Linked DNA regions of Homo sapiens: region 2 is linked to region 1. Evidence: promoter capture Hi-C in human tissues and cell types (Jung and others, 2019). All regions are on one chromosome and are shown on one strand. Each heading gives the region's core, a stretch centred on a gene start or on the middle of the fragment in contact. The rest is flanking DNA. Distances are from core to core; before and after follow the strand shown. Region 1 holds the start of ZFPM2 (zinc finger protein, FOG family member 2). Region 2 has its middle 180 kb from the start of LINC03084.

Evidence for each region. Contacts are between HindIII fragments. The study calls those that stand out against the background at their distance.
Region 2: a fragment that was not itself captured here is called in contact with the fragment with the promoter of ZFPM2 in region 1 in 2 of the 25 tissues and cell types used here (H1 embryonic stem cells and IMR-90 fibroblasts).

Annotation. Positions count from the first base shown.
Region 1 is chr8:105,316,349-105,323,546 of GRCh38, reverse strand. It overlaps ZFPM2 (zinc finger protein, FOG family member 2), which reads right to left and starts at 5,109. Exons shown (of 8, transcript NM_012082.4): 1 at 4,566-5,109. The coding sequence starts at 4,605. RefSeq lists an enhancer at 916-2,245. The HindIII fragment of the contact is 7,749 bases long and covers 1,783-7,198 here.
Region 2 is chr8:105,008,680-105,015,254 of GRCh38, reverse strand. It overlaps the pseudogene RPL29P18. Among named protein-coding and RNA genes, the nearest start is that of LINC03084, 180 kb to the left of the region's middle. The HindIII fragment of the contact is 6,178 bases long and covers 27-6,204 here.

The sequences.
Region 1 (7,198 bases), core at 3,860-6,359:
TACTATTCTATCTGTTTTATTGCTAAAACAACTATTATACAGAATACAGGTTCCTTTAATTTGTGGCACGTGTAAAAATAGGTTTTCCGAAATGTTGCTCAGTCAAAAATGTAGAAAATAAAAATCTCCAATATGAGAAGTATTACAGACCAAAGAGAAGAATTATTTTGCATTATATTCAATTATCCCTAAAATTCAGAAAAAAAATAACTTATTTGTTTCAAAACAAAAACCTGTCTTAATATTTGGCAGGAGAAAAAAAAGACATTCTAACTGTGTATAACAATGATCAATGTTTTCAAATATAGGTAGTATTCCCAAAACATTTTTAAAAATAAAAATATCAAAGACAACACAGTAGATAATTAACCCTAAAATTATAGATTGAATATCAATAGAAGAAAGACTTTTAAAAGACCCATAGAACAATGAAAAATAGCCATACTCAATTATTTGCATAACATAATTTTAAGGTTATAGAAATGATCCAACTAGAGGTTTTCATGTGACAAATATTAAATAATAAATTTAATATATAATATTCTTATTTTAAAACAATAATTGTTTTATGCATAAAATATTGACTATAACCTACCCTTTATAAAAATAGCATAGAACATTAAAATGCCAATGCGCAAGTTAGGAATTCGTACGGCCTAAAATTGTTATATCATCTCAAATAACAAAATGGTAATTATTCAATATGAATGGATTCCAACTTCTGGGAAAGACCCTCTACCGAACTGCTAACAAGATTATTCTCTAACCAGAACATTTTACTTTCAACATGCATGCTAATTTCCAGTATCTGCTTCACTTTTCAAGAAGAAAACATTCTGCCTCTTAATTCACCCTTTCATTATACTTCACCACAAATTATTTGGCACCTGATCTAGACCAAACATTTATGCACTACGCTCTGAAAAGATCAAGCAATCTAAAAGTTTTATGAAAACTCTACTTTTATGGTATAAAGAAGAGTGCCTTTTCCTAATCTTATACAAAAATAAATTACTTGAGTTTCTCCTTTTCAAGCTCTATATTAACTACTAGAGAGCAGATAATGACATTCATTTGCAAAAAAAAAAAAAAAAAGTGATGTCCACCTCTTCCTGCACCCATAGCCAATACACTTCAGTGTGACTGGAGTTGGGGACATATAAGGCAGTAAACACATTACTAGAGACAACAGCTTGAAGAAGAAAATAACAATAAAACTGCACACACAACACATTTACTAATCATAAAGAGATGCATTGGTAAAAGAAAAAAATCATCATTTCTGTCATAAATTTTGCACTGCAGCCCCAGAATGGAGAACAATCTGGGCAATTTATTGGCATATTGGCAGGAGGTGATAAGGCTAAAAACAACAACAGCGAGCAGCTGTGCGGGGAGATGGGCTGATAGCATGATATGGCTCCCACACCAAACACCTCCCGTCCTATCAGGGCTTTTTATCAAACCAGGATTACAATAATAGCTTATGAGAGAAAGCTTCTGAGGGGAGGGCAGAAAATATAGTCTTGGAATAGGAAAAAAAAATCTGAATTTTGGGACAAAACATGGGGGCAAAATACATAATTTATCACTGTATTATCAGGAAATCCAGGCAGTCTAATCAAGGAGCACTGAGTGACTATTTTTTGCCTTATCATCCAAAGTGGTGGAAACGGAGAAGGAATTATCAGGCTTCTGCAGATTGCTGGGCTGGAATTTTAATGGTAATAATCGGGTTTCTGATGGTATATCTTCTCCGCTTATCTTTCCCATTATCTCCTCTTATCTGGCCAGTCATCATAGCAAATTAATGGTGCTCTTTCAGCGTCGCCTTTTTATCGCTGCCCGGAGAGCACCCAAGGGGAAAGAATAAGCAAAATATTAAAATACTGCATAAATCACAATTTTAGATAGCAGGGAACTGTATGCAGTAAAAGAAAAAAAAAACTGTGCCCAACAACCTTTTTGTCCTTTAAATTGACTGTCTTCAGAGTTTCTGGTATAAGCTGACTTTTTGCTTGTCATAGTTGCTTCAAATTGGGTATGTTTTATCAGCAGTGCCAAAGCTTTATTTTCTAATCCTGGACATTTCCAAGTTTAAAATGCAGTTTTATTACTGGCGTGAAATGCTATTGTTTCACAGAGCATAGCTTTCTGAGATTCTCCAAACTTATATTTGATCCAGAACATCAAAAGTAACAGTGTTGTTTGTAATAGAAAATGGTGCACTTCTTACGCACTACTAAAACTGGGGGGAGAGACCTACAATAATAACGACTTTGGATATCAACACAAACTTCTCCATCTGCGAAACTGCCTCTTATGCCTGAACAGGCAAAAGGAGACAAACGTCAATAGATTGCAACTAAAATGACTTTAAAGCTGGTCAAACGACATTTAAGTATCTCCCCCACCCCCTAAAAAAGCTAAAAGAAGAGGACTACTCCAGTATAGAAATTCAAAGACCTTTAATTTTTCACTTTTCTTAACGGTGGAATGGAAGAAGGGGTGTCCACATTTGCACAGATTATCACTGTGACCCCAAATTGAATCCAATAAAAGTATTACATGCATATAAATAATACATATGTATGCATATATCAGCAGGCAATGCTCACTGTGAATAAATATATAAATATATTTGTTCACTTTCAAATGAAATAACTTTCAAGCATTTTTGATACTTAATAAATCACAGCATTCAAATAAACCACTAAAATGTTTTATGACTTGTAACACAAGAGTAGCATCAGCAATTAGTTTCAATGCTTTAATCTTCAATTATATGAGGTGGACATAGAAGGAAATAAAAAAATTAATGTAGCTAATTGAGAAGATAACAAAGTATTCCCAAGTAAAATCAGATGGTCTTGTGCCATACAATCAATTAATATTAATTATTTATTAACAAACCCAGGTGACAGCCATGAACTAAAAAGCATTTGTATCTAATAATGTTTATAATCATATCTTATAATAAGCACGGTTTTGTATTCTAAGATGCAACATTTAAACAGAGGAATCTGATCAATTGAGTCCTAAAAACTACAAGGCAATTGGTGGAAACCATGAATAATCATTCTGAAAAAGTGAGTCTTCAAAAACGATATCGCTACTTGATTAAAACTGCTTTGAGCCAAAAGTGAAGTCCAGTACTTGCTTTAACCCAAGTTGCATAGAGTGAGAACTGAAGTATAAGAGAAGGAATCGAAGAAATAAAAGCTAGAAAGTCATGTTTAAGTAGCAGACACACACACACACACACACACACACACACACACACACACACAAAGATCTGAATACTTAACTGTTGATAACTGTTTATAACCTGGCCCCCATTTCAAGGACAAGTTGATTGATAAGATTTATTTTTAAACTACACCAAATAGAATTTTCAACATTTGGGGGTGGGGCGAGTATGGTTAATAATCAGGGGGGAAAGGGATACTACTAAAGTCTTATCCTTAAATTACATCATAATTTGTTTAAAACTAATTGCAGACTCTGAGCAACACGGTGAAACAGACACATCATAAAGCTAGCAAAAAATAAACTAATAAGGTTTTTTCTTCTTTTCGGCCAAAGCGTTGAAGATATGTCGCAGGCCTATAAAACGCTATTGGAGGAATTCTCCCCAAGCCAAGAAAAGTTGACCGACTTGATCTCTGCGAGCGTGCCTGTTTCGGAAGGTGTCTCTTGACCCGCCGTGTCCTCTAAGCACCATCGGGACCCCCGGGCACCCGGGGGCTCAGGGCCATGCACTCCCCTGCGCGCCCACCGCCTTGAACTCACAGCTTCCGCGCTGGGAAGTGACTGGCGGCCCCTCCCAGGGAGGACTCCGCGCGCCACCAGGGCCAGACACCACCCGAATCCCCGCTCGGCTGAGCGTCCTGGCGGCGTGAGCCGGACCCGCCCGAAGTCCCAGGACACGACCTGCCAGCCACCAGCCCGCGCCCGCAGGGCAGAGACGCACGGCCGCCCGCCGCAGAGGCGCGAACTTTTACACCTACTTTTTGTTTCGCTTCGGGTTTGGTGTGGCTCTGGCACCGCCCAGGATCGGGACCCTGACGCTCTGATTTTCCACCGCGTGGGGAAGTTACCTCCCTCGCCCCGAGGTCTCGACCGCCCAGCTTTTCTGAGAAGTTTCTACCCTGGTTACTAAAAGTGGTTCCCAAGAGTAGTCCCACGTCAATCGCACAAAGCAATGACAACAACAATAATAAGCGTCTAAAGGAGCGGGACTGCCCCTCCGGCTGGACGACAGCGCCGGGGACTCGCAGCGTGCGCGGGTCGGAATTAAAAAAGCAGCCCGGGAGCGCGAGGGCTGAGCGGGGCAAGCATGGGCTGCTCCTCGCAGCCTCTCTCCTGCCCGAGGCTCGGGCTGGCCGTCTGTCTGTCTATGACTGTCTAGTTGTCCCTTCGACTGCTCAGGCAAAGTTTGAGACATCTAGGGGACCGGGAGCGGATCTCCCCTAGCCCCGCCACCCACCCACCGCTTTCCCGTCCCGCGCACCCCGCTCCTGGGCAATAATCCCACCAACTCCCGGCCCCGCGCGCAAACTTACGTTTGATCTGCCGGGGTTTGCTTTGCTTTCGCCGGGACATCTCGGCGGCGGCTGCTGCCGCTGGGGCTCCCGCGGTGCCCGCGGTCGCGGCTGCCGCTCCCTCGGCTCCCGCCGCCGCCGCCGCCGCCGCCGCCGCTGGCCAGGCTCGGCCCGCCGCCGGCCGGACTCCAGGTGCTCCGGGCGCTGGGCTCCTCCGGGAGCCGCGGATTCACGTTCGGAGATGAGCAAGCAAATGAGAGAAGAGAGACGGGGGCACAGAGAGTGTGACAGTGAGGAGGGGAGGGGGAGAGGAGAGCGACGGGGGGAGAATGGGAATGTACAAGCGAACGGTCAGGGAGAGAGAAAAGGGGAAAGAGAAGAGAAAAATAACACGGAAAGAAGGAAGAGAAGGAGGGAGGGACGGGAGAGCGAGCAGCGAGGAGAGGGGGAGCGCGGGGGCGCAGGGCGCGGGAGGAGGAGCGCGCTCGCTCGCCCCTCGCCCCGGCGTGCGGGACGGATACTCCGGCGCCGCCGCCGCCGCTCCGGGCCGCGCAGCTCCTGTTCTGCGGCGGGAGGCGGCGAGGCGCGCGAGGGAGGGGCGCGCCGGGGCTGTGGGGAGGGGAGACTATTCCATCAGCCAAAGGAGGATTGGCTGCATCCAAATCCAGTCCGGATGCAAACTACGGCCCCGGCCTTGGTCGGGCGAAGTGCGGGGGATCCAGGCGGTGGTGGGGGATGGGGGCAGGGGTGGGTGGGAGTTGGAGGGGAGGCGTGGGGACGGCTTGGAGGAGGGCCACCTTCTGCAGTTGTCACCGCGTCAACGCTGGGCAGCTGCCAGGGCACCCCGCCCCACCTCCTTCCAGGCAACTTCTTCCAACGGCCCTCTCTGAGGGACCCCAACTCTCCTCTCTCACGCCTCGCCAGTCCAGCGGGGCACAAAGAAATCTCAGTCTCTCCCTAAACTTTGTGCTTTCAGTTATGCCGCCCCCTCCCCTCACCCCCAACCCCCGCCCTCCCAGCTTCTTGGCAGGAAGGTTAGGCCACTGGCAAAGTCCTCGGCGAGAGCCAGATGATCACAAATGCCAACTGTGTGTCTTGGGGCCAGTTAAGTCCGCTCATCTGCCCAGGCTCTCAGAAGACCATTTCTTTGCTCTCAAGGCTCCCAGGAGACCGCTGCGGACACGGACCGTCCCGCTCTGGGCCCACGTGGATGAGGTGCTGAGTCGGATCCTCAACGTGTTCTGTCACCCACAGTTTCCATTTTAAATTGTAAAATATTCAAATTTGGAGACAAGCAGATATTTTTCTCATCTTGAAAAGGAGGAGCGAGCGTTAGCTAGCTGATTAGCCGTAAGTGGAAAACGAACCATCTCTAATAAAAATACTAACTTTTTGGGAAAGTCTGGGGAAGTTCTGTAGTCCCACCCTGCCCCGTGACCTTTCTATTCTCTTAGTCTTCTGCCACAGGGAAGCACCGATCGACTAATAAAAGATTTGATCTTGCTGTAATTTCCCAAGCGGGTAAGACCCAGTAACTATTTAATGGTTCTTTAGCTTCTAAAATTTTGTTTTATTCTTATTCAATTACTGTATGTGTAGTATATCGGCAACTGCAAGCCAAAAGGAGAACAAATTTTGAGGTGATTTGCATAGTTATTATTTTGGCCAAGTTAAACTGTATGAGGTTAGCTTATTTTCTTACAGTTTCATATACGGTAAGTATTAAATATATTCTCCCATGTGGGTTGGAAGGAGCTTCTATCCAAGTGCAGTGGGACTAGCTGCTTTATGTAATCAGTATTTACTAATAAACTCCACTGCAGTTCACATGAGTCCCCCAGATACTGCTGACTTTTCCCCCAGGAGGTTGTGAAGTGGACCATTCTGATCTCAAATTGTGTCCCCGTTTGCTTGGTTGACTATTATTTGTGTGAACCACACCAAACTGGATACTCTAAAAGGGTCTGGGGTCAGCACAGAGCCTGGGCTGATTGAGCATAATGCAAGATGCTCAGTGTGTAAGAGGCACTGTAATCAGTGTCATTTATAACCCCAACAGGACATCTTCTGGAAGGTGTAAAGAGTTGCCTTGTGAAAGGTATGGCCAAGAGAATCTTAATACAAAGCTGAAGACAAATTGTGAATTTTATTACATTACCATTAGTACTATTACCATAGGAGGCTGTAAGAATACATAGTCCTCTGCAGTGGAAAATGCACTAAATGACAAAGTCCCTCCTGTGAAGAACCAACAAATTAAGGCTGAAAGTACCATGAAAAGCAGGGCCATTTATGTTTGTGTTGTGGAATAAATAAGCAGAGAGAGAACTGCAGATTTTTACCTCCTTCATTTTCAATTCATTACAGTTAAATTGGTGTGCTTAGAATCAGATGTATTGTACATTATGGTTTTTAAAGATCTTTTTACAGAACTGGCTGAATTTTTATGTCACCCAAAAGGAATGCCCATTGGAATTAAAATATCGTAACTGTTTCTTTTGGAGTTTGAAGTGGTTAAATATGCAATGCAAAAGAAAAACAAATAAATCTCAGCTAAATGTTTAGTTTAAAAGCTAAAAGGAGCAGAAGTCAGAGAATTCAAGGCAAGATTGATAACCAGAATGCATTATTAGAGATAGATATTAGTTTATCTA
Region 2 (6,575 bases), core at 1,866-4,365, 310 kb after region 1:
TGAAGAAATTAGAGTGCTAGATACCCTCATCCACCCAACAGAGCAGGGTCACTATCAGACCAGTCAGAGGCAAATGCCTGAAGACTCACTCTCTTAAACCAGAGGGAGCTTGGGCAGAAACACTAGAGCTGAGGGAGTGGTCATGAAAACAAGATGGCTAAGTGAGCATTTACATCCTGATGTGTGAGAACTCCAGCCTCTCCTCCCTTTGGCCCTGGACCAGCAGACTTGCTTATATTCATCAGGCAGACCCTTAGTGGGTGCATTTTTGAGAAAAGCAACCTGCCCAAGAGCATAGACCTAACAATAACTGTCTTGTCACTTTACAATGAGCTCACTTTATGAGGAACCCAACATCCCCATTTCTGGTTAGCTCCTTTGTGCTTCACACTTTAACATGACCAGGCACTGACGGATCTCTAAACCTTCGAGACAGAAACAAAGCAAATACATAAGGAAAAAGAAAAATGGAGGAAACAAAGACAAAAGAAGCAGAAAAAACTTCTAAAGAAATAATTTAATAGTCTCAAAGAAAAGGGAAGATATTGCATTCTTGAAATGAGAATAGGAAGTCTGAAAAAAAGAAACACTCAAATTCTGAAAGAGGTCTTGGAAAAAAATTTTAATGGTGTCAGAAATAAAAAGGTTAATAGAAGGATTGGGCAATAAAAATATAAAGTTGGGGCCGGGCGCAGTGGCACACGCTTGTAATCCCAGCACTTTTGGGAGGCCAAGGCGGGCAGATTACAAGGTCCGGAGTTCGAGACCAGCCTGGCCAACATGGCGAAACCCCATCTCTACTAAAGATACAAAAAATTAGTTGGTGTGGTGGTGCACACCTGTAATCCCAGCTACTCAGGAGGCTGGGGCAGGAGAATTGCTTGAATCTGGGAGGCGGAGGTTGCAGTGAGCCGAGATCATGCCACTGCACTCCAGCCTGGGCAATAGAGTGAGACTCCCTCTCTCAGAAAAATAAAAAATAAATAAATAAAGTTGGAGAAATCTCCCAGAAAGCAAAGCAAAAATCCCAAGAGATTAAAAAAGAAAAGATGTTTAAATGAGTATGTGAATACTAAGAGTTCAGAAAGAAAGAACAGAGAAACAGGAAGGAGAAAATTGTCAAAGACTAGAGACAAAAAAAATTCCCATAACTGAAGGGTATGAGTCTTCAAAATGAAAAGCCCTACTGAGTGCCTATCACAATGAATATGAGAACAAACACACACATACACAGACTTCGAGCAACATTATCATGGAATTTCAAGACACTAAGGATAAGGAGATCTTAAAAGTTTCTAGTGATAAGAACTTAACATTTGTTTCTAGTGAGAAAAAAATCATACAAAATGTGTTAAAAATTAGAATGACATCAGACATTTTAACAGCAACACTGGCAACTAGAGGACAATGCAAAAATAACCCTCATAATTCTGAGGAAAAGCAATTTGATTACAGAATTCTCTTTCCAATCATATTCCCAATCAAGTATGAGGGTAGAAATAAAGACTTTTACACTTAATAAAGATCTAAAATATGTATTGCCTCCCACTGGCATCCTTTTTCAGGAAGCTACTGAAGGATGTGCTCCACAGAAACAAGGAAGGAAAGAAACAAAATGTCACATGAGAAATGTACACATAGTATACTATATGACTTGGCTGTGAAATGTATATCTAGATATCTGTATCCACATATCATAAAAACACTGAATATTTTATTAACAAAAATTTTGATATATCTGTCATCAGAAGAAGGGGGTAAAAGAAGTGTGAATGGAGTGCTAAAAACAGAACTAAATCCTAAGCTCCTCTAGCAGGAACTCTAAAACAATGTCTACAACTAAAAAAACAAAGAAATAACCATAGTAATGTATTATTCAAAAATGTGGAGGAAATTCTAAAAACAAGAGGGAAAAGGTTAAAATTGGTGCATCTTAGGATAGGAATCAGAGTTGAGAGGAGTGGCCAAGGTGACTGCTAATTTTTATTAAAAGTCCTGCAGAAAAATGTACTACTTATTACCAATTTAAAAAATAGTAAGATGATAAGAAAAAGAGCTTCTTTAACCTTATAAATGGTTTTTTTTACTAAAGATATTTTAAGCATTTAGACATATTCTTATTAAAGTTATTTACTATCTCTCTTTCCTTAACATTGTACTGGACTTTTCAGTCAATCTCATAAAATAAGAAAAAGAAATAAATATTATAGAGATTGGTAAGGAAGTAATACTCCTTTATTATTTTTAGATAGCAGAATTGTGTAGAAATGCAATAGAAATTCTAATTAATTAATGAGAATAATTAAGATAGTTCATTGAGATTTTTGGATAAAATATTAGTATACTGAGAATTTGTCTGTTGTAGGGCCTCAACATTTGCTATTTCCTCTGCTAGGAAGGATTTTCCCTCAAGATACTGAGTAACTTTCTTCCTCATCATATTCATGTTTCTGCTCAGAGATGCCTTTCCTGAATCTTATTGCTCCAAGTCATGTTCTTTCCTAGTATACTATCATTTTTTGGAGCATTTGTGAGTACTCACTAATAAGAGACATCTTACCCCATTGGACTGGAAGCTCCTAGAGAGCAAGACCAACTGTCTTGCTTACTACTGTATCCTCAACAATTACTATAGTGCTTGGCACAGAGCTAAGGCTAAATTAATACTTGCCATTAATGGCAAGGATTAATGATGAGCATGCAGCAGTGGAAGCAGCATTAACTACTTAGAAAATATAATAGAACAAAAAATAACATTGATTATAGAGAATAAATACTGTAAACCAATAATACATTTCGTAACAGGTGTTCAAAGTCTTTATAGAGAAATTTAAAAAAAAATTCCAGAAAGACTTAATTGAATTTCTCATTAAATGAAGGGATGTGGCATGTTTATTTGTCATGTACAGGAAGATTCAGTTTTATAAGGACAAATGATCTTAACATCAATATATAAATTCCATAAAATTCCAGTGTAAATCCTGTTGGAATCTTTTATGGAACATGACAAAGTGATTCTAAAATTGATTTGGAAAGCATAAAGGACTAAAACAGGTAAGATATTCTCTAAGGAAAAGTGGGGTAAAAACTCGCATAGCAGGATAAGAAACATGTATTGAAGGCAGAATATTAAAACAGTGCAGTACTGGTGGAAATATATGAATGGAATAGTAGAATAGAGAGGTGGAAAATGGAACCAAGCTCATAAGAGATTATCTTCTTCAAATCTGTGCAGAAAGAGTGGATTTTCTCCATATATGGCATTGAGAAAAATGGCTTTCCAAAAATAAAAGTAGAAAGTCTCACACAGTGTCTTAGCTTGGCAGACCCTGAGATGAAGACTTGGGTGCAAGCAGTTTACTTGGAGGCAATCTTTGGTGGCTCAAGTGAGGAAGCGGGAGAAAGTGAGAAGAGTAAAGTTAACAAAAGGTGTGTTAATGAACAGATTGCTGTTAATGAAAATTGGAGCTTAATCCTCACTGTGAATTTGGAGAAAACATGTGGCATATACTCCTTAAGATTGTCCCCCAGAAGATGGGAAACTAACATTTATCTATGGATTCCATTTTTTTTCCCTCCTCAGTTTTATTTGTACAAATAGCATAGGAGGACACCAGCCCTATGCAGACGGCAGCCCAAGGGGGTCACACCAGTCCTTCTGTCCTCACGTTGGCAGACAGAGATCTCTACTCTGAAGCTTTTATAGGGGACTGGGCACCTTTGGGAGCCTGAGCTGGAACTGTAGCTGGAGCTGCAGCCTGGGCCTTGGTTTGATCCTTGGCCTTTGGCTGGCACAGACTGAGCCCCTTGGCAATGTGGGCATAAGCATGCTTCCCAAGCTTGGGGTGGGCAATATAGGCAAGTCAATCGAACTTGCAGCTGACACTCTTTGGGATCTTGGGCTTAACCTCCTTGGGCTTTACAAGGGCCTTGATAGCCTTGGCAAGTGCACTCATGGCCTTGGCATTGTTGGCCTGCATCTTCTTTAGGCCCTTCTTGGTGTGCTTCTTGGCAAAGCACATGATTCTCAGGAACTTGGGGTCCACCTCCTTAAGAGATTCGTATCTTTGTGGTCAGGGTTTCTTGATGCCATTTCTGGGCCATTTTCGAGACTGATTGTGTGTGGTGTGATTCTTGGACTTGGCCATGTCTGCACCTTAAGCCGTGGCTCCTGAAATGCCTAGAACCACTATAGATCTCATTTTTGAAGGTTGCCCCAGGGCATCAACTCCCCCAACACCTGTCCAGGATCTTGATACCTGTCTTGTGTCAGAGAAGCCTCCCATGCACAGAAGAGAGATGCAAATACTTTTAAGGGGATAGTCAGCTTGCAGAAATTCTCTTAAGCTGCAGGAGAGCTTAGGTAGGTGTAGACAATGTCAGCAGCATCTGCGACACACACTATAAACAAATAAAACAAAAATGAAGTCTAAATGTATAAAAAGATCTTAATGTGAAAAATATAACTAAAACTATTAGGAGAAAATATTGAGCACGGTGCAGTGGCTCATATCTGTAATTCTAGCACTTTGGGAGGCCAAGGCAGGAGACTTGCTTGAGGCCAGGAGTTTGAGACCAGCCTGGGCAATGTAGCAAGACCCTGTCTCTACAAAAACAAAAATTAGCCTGACGTGGTGGAAGCATGCCTATAGTCCCAGCTACTGGGAATACATGATATTAATCAATTCAGATCTCAAATGCATAAGATCTCATTAAAAAAAGCAAACAGCACAGTATTATGTGTGGTATAATACAAATTATGTAAATTTAAAAATACGTACAAAACAAAAATATTGTTGATGAATATATCTGTAGTGTTTTATTAATATTTTCTAAAGATGTGCTGAATCAAAGATGACTAAATGTCAATATTTTTTCATTTTGGAATGGCATGTACATAGGTGTTATAAAGTATCCTTTACATCTGTTTTGGGTGAACAGAGTTTGGTTTAGGATCTCTTCTCTTTTTTGAGGGTAGGATTGCCTTCCAAGTTTAAAGTAAAGGAAAAAAGCAGGGTAACAGAATAGGACAGAATCCTATTCTAAGGAACAAGAGTAGAAAAAAATGTGTACAAGGCAAACAAGTGGACAACGGAAAGGACAACTGGTTAGGCAGACAAAAACCAGTGGACCTGGACTAAGATACAAGTGTTACAGAGCCATTTTCAGACAATTTCTGCTACAATTACAACTCTCTTATAATTAATATCATTTTATCACTTATCAGTTTATCTCAATCCATCAAAACATCACACAGTGGAATGCTCTGGGTGCTTAGTTTCTAGGAATTGACTTTGAGATCTTGAACAGAAGACACAACAATGAAAATTGAATGCAATTATAAACTGGTTAGTGGTTAACCACATGGGTTCTGTAGTCCCAGAGCCTGCAGAATGAATCCAGCTTTGCCACTTCACATGGCTGAGCAGTTTTGAGATGGCTCTTGCTCTTTCTATGCCTTTGCTTCATCATGTAATAATAATGCTAGTATTGGAGCTCATCATTATAATATTATTCTATAGGGATAATAATATTTTCCTCTTTATAGTATTGTGAAAATTAAATTTGATTATGCTTTTAAAGCTTCTAACACTGTGACTTACTCAAAGGTAATAGCTCAATAATGGCAACTATTGTCATTATTTCACTGCATTTAGTGAAACCATTGCCCTTTCCTACACTATAGCATGTTTGATTTTCATGTAGTCTGAGAACATGACCAATATTAAGCAGGCGATGGTGTTGGAAATGGTTTCTGGTCATCCAAACATGCCATTGATTTGTGTGTGCTCACTTGTGTACATGTGTGACTGCTGGATTGAATTGCCTGACCAACACTCCTATTCCTAAGAATTTTTTCCTCATCATCACAAATGTGCAATTAATCCACAAGATTGCAGAAGGAGCAGCCAAGTATAAACAGATGACTCCACCCATGGCCATAGCTGAATGGCTGATAAAGCAGAGTGTGGAAAGAAGAGAAGAAAGAAGCAGACACTAAGACAACAGAGAGAGAACCAGAATTGATGACTTTTGAGTCCCTGACCTCGATTCATTTATTAGGTTCAGCTACATTCTTAGATTTGAGTTCTATGTGAGATCCCAAATTCTCTGTATTAATTCATGTTTTTGCCAAAACAATTTTGAGTTGGGTTTCTGTTACATACCACCCAGAGTTTTGGCTAATATAATGTGAATGCAACACTGACAATAGAGCTACTTTTCTACTTGCCTATGGCTGGAAAGTAATAAAGAGACTTGGCTCCCCACCCAGGAAAAGAGATTGATAAAACTATAGAACTTGCAAAGTTTTATTGTTTGTCCAGCTCATCAGTTTAAAAATAATCACCACAAATTGGAAGAATTGAGAGCTTTAGGAGAATATTCAGAAAATAAACAAATGAGTGAGTGAGGTATGTGTCTGTTGATCTTCACTTCACCCAATTCTGTTTATTTAGACATCATAAAAGCACTTATATAATCAGACAGAGTTCTTCTAGATTGAAAAAAAAAGGTAACAGAGAAATGACATGACTTGGCCTAAATGCAGTTAAATAATACAAGGAGACAGAATG